Linked DNA regions of Homo sapiens: region 1 is linked to region 2. The links are contacts of gene promoters, found by promoter capture Hi-C in human tissues and cell types (Jung and others, 2019). All regions are on one chromosome and are shown on one strand. The core of a region is centred on a gene start or on the middle of the fragment in contact, and the rest is flanking DNA. Distances in the headings are between cores, read along the strand shown.

What was found. The method cuts DNA at HindIII sites, captures the fragments that hold promoters and counts their contacts. A contact is called where the count stands out against the background at its distance.
Region 1: the fragment with the promoter of OR51L1 here is called in contact with the fragment with the promoter of OR51S1 in region 2 in 1 of the 25 tissues and cell types used here (aorta).

The regions. Positions count from the first base shown.
Region 1 is chr11:4,992,385-4,996,494 of GRCh38, forward strand. It overlaps OR51L1 (olfactory receptor family 51 subfamily L member 1), which reads left to right and starts at 2,467. Exons shown (of 3, transcript NM_001004755.2): 1 at 2,467-2,951. It overlaps MMP26 (matrix metallopeptidase 26), which reads left to right. Exons shown (of 8, transcript NM_021801.5): 8 at 1-45. The HindIII fragment of the contact is 11,490 bases long and covers 1,725-4,110 here.
Region 2 is chr11:4,847,543-4,851,671 of GRCh38, forward strand. OR51S1 (olfactory receptor family 51 subfamily S member 1) reads right to left here and starts at 1,666. Exons shown (of 1, transcript NM_001004758.1): 1 at 695-1,666. The coding sequence starts at 1,666. The coding sequence ends at 695. All of the region lies in intron 2 of MMP26 (matrix metallopeptidase 26), which reads left to right. The HindIII fragment of the contact is 3,311 bases long and covers 1-2,881 here.

The DNA of each region.
Region 1 (4,110 bases), core at 1,217-3,716, 150 kb after region 2:
CTCAAAACGCTACTGAGTCACAATAAAGATTGTTTTAAAGAGTAATATTTTGTCCTCATAATTTGATATGTCTCAGCATTTGCTATGTTCAACCACTGTGATCAGAACAAGAAAGAAGTGTACACAACAGTGGAGAACTCTGGCAGAGATGGCCACGGGACTGCAAGAAAAGAAAGCATAAGATTAGGAATAGACCTTTGCATTTTCCTACACAGGTAGAGTTTAAGGAATGTTATTTTCTATGCTGTATTGAATATGCCAGTTATGGAGACCAATTGGTTTAATGGCTTATCTAGTTATTAGCTATGAAACTTTGGTTAAGTCAAGTAACTTAAACAAAGTTAAGTTCAGGGCAGCTGAATCAACACTCAATTCCTAACAAGTCCTTTGCATCTCAAACTCTCCCTTTGTATTTGCTTCTGGAGAACCTAACCTCTGAAGTTGACTATTTGAAAAGCCAATGAAACTGTCAATCTACTGTGACACTAGTAGTATAAAAAAGAAAATGCATATCAAAACAACATGAGTAATGAGAAAAGCAGATACCGTGTGACTACTGCAGATCTTGAAAAATTATGAAAGTACTTAAGAATAACTTATAACCAATAAATATCAAAATGTATATCCAAACTATGTATTCCTAGATAAATACAATTTATAAAAATTGGTAAAAGAATAAATAGAAGATCTAAATGGTCCTATAAATGTTGGATAATGTAATCCTTAATTACATCTCTCCACAACTAGTTTTAAAACTGACAAAGAGAAAACCTGAATTGTCCGTAAGGATTAACTAGAAAGCCTATAATTAAAACTACCCTGGGATGGCCATTTAATTAAAAAACAACATACCAGCATATGCAAAATCTTCCCGGGGAGAAGAGAAAGAATATTTCTTCAGGTATTTTAGAGCTTTGTGTAATCTCAATCTCATAACAAAACATGACAAAGACATTACAGTAAGGAAAATTTCAGGCCGTGCTTACTGATGAACATCGATGTCAAAATTCTAAACGAAATATTTGCAAACCAAATCTGGCAATAAATAAAGAAAAGAAAATGGCATTCCAAACTTGAGTTTATTCCAGAAAGACAAGTTGATATTTGAAAATCAATCAATATAATTAATCACATTAACATGATATTAAAGAAAAATAATATGTATCATAAAAGCATGAATTTCAATAAACCCAAAATAATTTTATGAAATTCAGCATCTATTTTTGACAAAATCCCTTATCACATGAACAATAGAAGATGACAACATTCTCGGATAAAAGCAGGTACAAAAAATCTTAGCAAACATACTTAATGGTAAAATGTTGTTAACCACACCTGTGATATCTGCAAAAAGAAAAGAAAACAATTTTTATCCCTTCTCCCCAAAATGCACTGGAGATCTTATCCAATGCAACAAAGCAATAAATATAGAAAACGATAATGAAGATTTTAAATAAGAGAAAAAGAAGCTGACATTACTTGTGGAGGTGTGATTTGGTGCAAAATAAGGCCTTAGAGAATACAGATCACTTATTAAAAATAAAAAATAAGTTCAGCTTTTCTGAAAAAAGAAAAATTAACTTTATTTTTATGTAACAGTCCCAAATATTTAGAAAAAATTAATCATGCTACTTACGTTAGCACAATTGAATGCCAAATATGTGAGAATAAACCTAGTGTAAAATATGTAATCTCCAAACAGACAAGTATAAAATAATATTGAGAAAAAATAAAGACCTTAATTAATTGAAGTTCCTGTTCTTGGATTAGTTATCTTACATTCTAAACATGTAAATTCTCCCCAAATCGATCTACAGATTCAATACATTCTCAATAGTAGTCTCAATGTATATCTTGGTAGAAATGGATAACCTGTTTCTAAAATTTATTAATAAATGCAAAGAGGTAGGATAGCCAATATGCAAAGAAAAAAAATGTGTTGGGAGATGATGCTTCTTACCAAGCACTGAGGAAGCAGCAATGAACTGGATAGTAGCGTTTGCCTTTAAAGTGCTTAGTGTGCCTTCTTGAACCCTGTTGCTTAATAAATGCTTATGAAGCACATGACTAATAAATAACTCTGTTTAGTGAAATGTGGTAAACATCTTATAATGGAAAGACTTATCATTGCACTTTCTCATCATTGTTCTGTACAATGCCCCTAGTTAAAGCCGAAATTTCAGTATTCTTCTGGATCACAGTAGTTATCATAAATTTACTTTCTTACACTCATTTGAGAAAACTATTAGAGAACTAAGAATGGTGGATGAAAACAGGGATGCATTTCTACTATTTTCAGTATTATGATCATATGCTCTTGCCATACCTGTGGTTAAGGGCTTTTTATGGCCATTTCATCTCTGGGGATCCAACAGACTCTGACACCAATCCCTAATTTTCTTTGCCAGGAGACACCAGGAGTATTTATAGAGATGGTGGAAGCCTTCAAGCCTCACCACTCACAGAGTCGAAGGTTTTCAAAACCTGAGGTTCATAGAGACTTAAAATTGTAGCATCTTTAATCAGTACAGGTTTGATTTTCAGGTAGAGATGGGAAGTTTTCTCAGGTGAGAGATAAGCCCGTAAGAGCAGCAACTTAAACCACAGACACACAAAGAGAAATTAGAAGAAAGAAACAGCCAATCAAAGGGACCGGAAAAAATAGAGGATTACATGCTGAAAAGACACAAACTTAGATAAAAACAAAATATAAAAAAATGGCAGCAGGAAGGAGGCTAGAAAAGATAGTAAAGATAATTTGACACATAAAATGAGATAAAGAGAGAAAAAGCCACAGACATAGGAACAGAAAGAAAATATGACTTTAACTATAGTGAAGAAAAGTTTAGTCAGAGAAAGACAAAATGGAACTGTGGATCATTTGAGAAATGGGCTACTGATTGCAAATTAACTAGGCATATTGATTCAATTGCCTTATATTTAAATTTCAGGTAAGTGTGAATTTTTAAATTATAAATAGTTGGTAGATTTTAGCACATTTTGTATGTGGATATAGTTTGCTAAAGAGAGTAAAATTATGAGAAAGATGATGTACCATTTATGCAAAAGGAAAAAGAATTATTCTCATCTGTGAAAAAAATTAAATTTATTACAGTATTGTAATGTCTTGTTCCAATTATTTTCAGCGATTTTAAGATAAGCGATAAGCTGATTAGCAGAGAATAGGTTTTGATACTAGAGAGGCTGTAAAAAAATGGTCTTATGTTCAGTAGTTCTCCCTTAATTACCTGGAATAGGTGAATGTGTGACATAAGCCTATTCATGCCTCTGCCCTTTGAAACAGTCTTGTTATTACTCCCAGTTCTTTTCTATTATTTCTCTTTCGACCTCAGTGTGATTAAGTTGTACTAAAATCAACAAAGAACCACAAAGAATCATTGTCAGTGACCCAGAAATAGAGTCAAAAGAAAATGAATAGAGAAAAGACAATAAATGGATTTTAAAAAGTGAAAGACATGACAGATATGGCAGTGAGAGGATAAGAAAGGGAAAGTACACACAGAAATAGAAACGGGAAAGGGGCTTAGGGGGCCCGGGTAGTGGAGGAAATGCGGAAAAGTAGCTCAAAGCATACAAACTTGCAGTTATGTAGGAAGAATAAGTCTAGAGATCTAATATACAGCATGACCACAGTTCATAATATTGTAGAATGGGAACTCTTTTCAGGTGAGGGATAAATCAATGAGATAAAGCAGTGAGTTAATAATATTGTAGAAATGGGGACTCTTTTTAAGTGAGGGATAAACCAATATGAGCAAGAATTAAAACCACAGAAATTGTATACCGAAAATTTGCCAAGAGAGTAGAGCTTAGGTGTTCTTAGCATACACATGCACGTGTGTGCATGCACACACACACACACAGGCACATAGTAATGACCATTTCACTATGTATATGTCTATGTATATGCATATATATATATAAACATCATTCTGTATACCTTAAATATACACAGTTAAAAATTAATAGGGATTACAAACAGAAATATTCCTGCCTGTCCTAACCTCAAATCTATTGGCCAGTCTACAACTGAAGTTTTCTAAACATCGCAATCTGCACATAGGGGACTTGCACATAAAGCAGGGAGAA
Region 2 (4,129 bases), core at 416-2,915:
ATCAGATCAGGGTGATTAGCATATTTATAATCTCAAACATTTCTCATTTCTTTGTGTTGAGGACATTCAATATACATATGTATTCAAAAATATACTAACATTTTGAAAACTAAATGAAGAATTAAAAAAATTATATTCCCTCTTTTTTTCCTGGCCTGATCAGAGTTAAATAACCTATCTCTTGGTGTGAAGAATCTAAATGAGAGACTTACTTGCATTTTCCTCATGTATCTAATTCCTAAGGATTGGTCAGAATTCTTACTTCTTAAGGAGGTACAATACAAATGGAAGATCTTCTATCTAGTTGAGAAGAATGCTTCTGTCTTATTTTTCCTTTGCTATGTAGATGATTAACTCTTCTAGCTTTATCCAGTATTAAGGTATAGATATAGTGACAGGACTAACAACAATAAGATAACAACAGGCACACACTTGGATAGTTGTGACAAGATCTGGACTCTGGCCCTTCCTATGTCATTGATATGTAATGTACCAGTGGGTGGATCATGTTCATTCTTTGGGGCTTGTAAGTTTGCATCAATATACACAGGCATACTTCCAGGGACAGGAAGCTACATGCACATATATGCACTTATGTGTACGTGAATGATCATTTCATGCTTGGTGAGCTGAGTTCTCACAGAAACTTTAGTATCAGGAGCCCTGTACCACCAAACACGGAGGGACATCCTACTCACTGAGCACCACCCACCTTCCTGGGCTGCAACCTGTTGAGTATTCTCTTTCTAATCTCCTTCATCTTGACACTATAGAGAATAGGGTTTATCAATGGAGGAAGAAGGAAATGGACATAGGATAGAAGAGTATGGGTATGCTGAGTGATTGGCAGCTCAGGATGGTTAATCAGTGCCAGGAGGATCATAGGGATATAGAAGAGGAGCACTGCAGAGAGGTGGGCAGCACAGGTTTGACCAGCCTTCCAGCGATCCTCTCTGGACTCCACACCTTGCAACACCTTGCCAATCAGGCCATAGGAGAAGAAAATAAGCAGGGGGTCCAAACCCATGGCTGAAAGAACCACAAATAGGCTGTAGGCTGCACCCCAAGCTTCTGGGCAGGCCAAACGAGCCACATCTGGATGCAAGCAATAAGAATGGGTTAGGACCTGTGGGAGGCAGTAGGGCATGTAGGCCAGCAGGAATGGCAGGGGCAGATGGAGACCCAGGCATCGAAAAGAAATGGCCAGGCTGATTTTGCTAATTACACCATTGGTGAGGAGCGCTGGGTAGTGGAGAGGTCGGCAGATGGCCAGTGCCCGATCAATGGACATGGCGAGCAAGACAGAGGACTCCATGACAGAAAAGACATGGATAAAAACCATCTGTAGAAGGCAGGCTGAGGCAGGGACAGTGTGAGCACCAGCAAGGGCGATGCCCAGCAGTGTGGGCATCAGGGCAGTGACCAATCCAATATCAGACACACTAAGCAAGAAGAGGAAGAAGTGCATTGGGCGGTGCAGGGCGGGCTGCAGGGCAATGATCCAGAGGATGGTGCCATTTCCCAGTGCAGAGAGAAGGTAGACAGCAATGAGGGGCAATGTCCACCAGGAGGGTGCACCTGATAGGCCTGGCATGCCCACCAGCAAGAAGGTGGGGGCCATTGAAGTGCTGCTATTGGGGGCTATCTGAGTTGGTAATGTTGACATAGTTCAGGATTCCACGTTGAACTCTGGAACCTGAAAAATGATTAGAAAGGTTTACTTAATCGCGTGCCAAATTTGCATGAAACGTTCCAAAATAGCCTGCATCTTCCCTTCCCTGACTCATGCACTCACATACACGTACACATATACACATTTCCTCCCTGTGCACGCACCCATCCTAATAGTATATGCAGCATTCATTCCTTGCCTTTGAGGTTTTTCTATAGCTGTCCTCATAGCTCTGTGGTTCTGTTTCTTTTCCTAGATTGTTTTCACATGTTTTTTTAGCTTGCCTCTCCCTGTAGTGTTATCCTATTTTTTCCCTCCCTTTATGACAAACACTTTAGGAAACAGTCCATTTATCCATATTTTTTTCTCTTCCCAACCCCAGACAGTCTGACTTCTAGACTGCCTTAAGATACTTACATTTTGGTGCACTTTAACTGTTCTTATTAAGTCCCCAATTACTCCTTTATTTCTAAATTAAGGGGCACTCATTTTTTCTAAGCTTGATTTATTTCTTAATGAGCTTTGGCTACTATGGATCTATTTTTTACTTTTTTAAAAATTCTCCCTTTCAGAATTTAGCCTTTTACTTAACTTTGCTGTGTCCCTATGATTTATACATGGGTATTTAAAATTTTTATTTTATTGAAATGTAATAATTGCACATATTTAAAGGGGTGCATGTGGTATTTTGTTACATGCATAGAATGTGAAATGATAAAGTCAGGGTATTTAGGACATCCATCGCCTTGAGTAATTATAATTTTTATATGTTGGAACATTTCAAGTTCTGTCTACTAGCTATTTTGAAATATACAATACATTGTTGTTAACTATAGTCACCCTACTTGGCTACTGAACATTATAACTTATTTCTTCTATCTAAGTGTATGTTTATATTTTTGAGATATTTTTCCTTGGCCCTCTTTATTTTCCTAAGTGGTCTTATCTACTCTCATGACATCAACTCGAGTCTACAAACAGATGAATTACTAATATATATTCCCAGATCCTTCTAGGTTCATCTTACCTTGGATGTTCCAGGCAATTTAAATTCAAATAATCCAAAGCAGATCTTAACAGACACATCTTAATGCCTCTTTCAGAGTCATCAGTTAGGAAACAGTGAAGAGGAATTTATGTCAATAGCAAAACCAATAAGACACTCGTTTGTTCCCTAAGTCAGTTGTTGGTGCCACCATTAATCAATTTCCCAAAATAAAAACCTGAGAATTAGCTTCTCCTCACATGTAATATCCAAATATTATTTATAATTTTAACAAGAAGGACTGGACACACACCATAGTCATATTTTCTTCCCTGCCCAAATGCCCAGAAAGATTGGAACTGAAATTCTGGACAAAAAGACCACGAAAATTGGGATCTAAAGAAAAGTAAAATAAAAAAACTTGCTAGGTTTTGTTTTCAGGATAATGATATAGATACAAGTTAACCCTAAACATTTATTACAAAAATTCCAAATACATATGTTATAAAATATTATGTTAAAATTTTAAATAAAATATAACTTTCAAGCTAAAAAAGGAAGATAAATGCAACAAAAACCTTAATCCCACAGACTTTTAAAAAGCAATAAATAGAAACAGACATTCATTTCCAGTGTGATGGAGTGAGGAGGCTAACCCTAAACATTTATTACAAAAATTCCAAATACATATGTTATAAAATATTATGTTAAATTTTTTAATAAAATATAACTTTCAAGCTAAAAAAGGAAGATAAATGCAACAAAACCCTTAATCCCACAGACTTTTAAAAAGCAATAAATAGAAACAGACATTCATTTCCAGTGTGATGGAGTGAGGAGGCTAACACATCCTCTCCCCTACAAAGCATGTATAAAGCTGGCAAGCTGTCAATAAGATCCATTTTGACACCCTGGAAATCCATTAGAGATATAAGCTTGTTTATTGAAACGACTGAACTTTGGAAAATAACAGCCAGTTGCCTAGCATTTTGGCAAGGCTGCTTCATTCCACTGCCTCCAGCTCTATCAACAGTGGTCAGATAAGGAAACCCCACAGCTTTGTTCCTGTACTCGTGAGGCAGCTTCCGTGATTTGGAGCTCTGTCAGTTAGCACGGCAATTTTGGTGGCAAGGAAATAGGGAGGGCCAGCAACTCCACTACCCTGAGGTTCTGGTCCTCTTTGGGGTAATGTGTCCACCAGCAGACTAGGTGAGGATTTAACACAGAGTTCTGGCTGAAAAATAAAACCAGATGGTAACTGGAATCTATAGGAAGAAATGAAGAGTACTGGACATACTCAATATATGGGTAAATGTGAAGGACTCTATACACGTTTTAGTTAATTTTCCCTAAATTTCCTTAACAGGCTTGAATTGGATGAAAAAATAATTATAATACTCTATTGTCGAGTAAATTATATATATTATATATGTGTGTGTCTGTATATGTATGTATATATATTATAATAATAG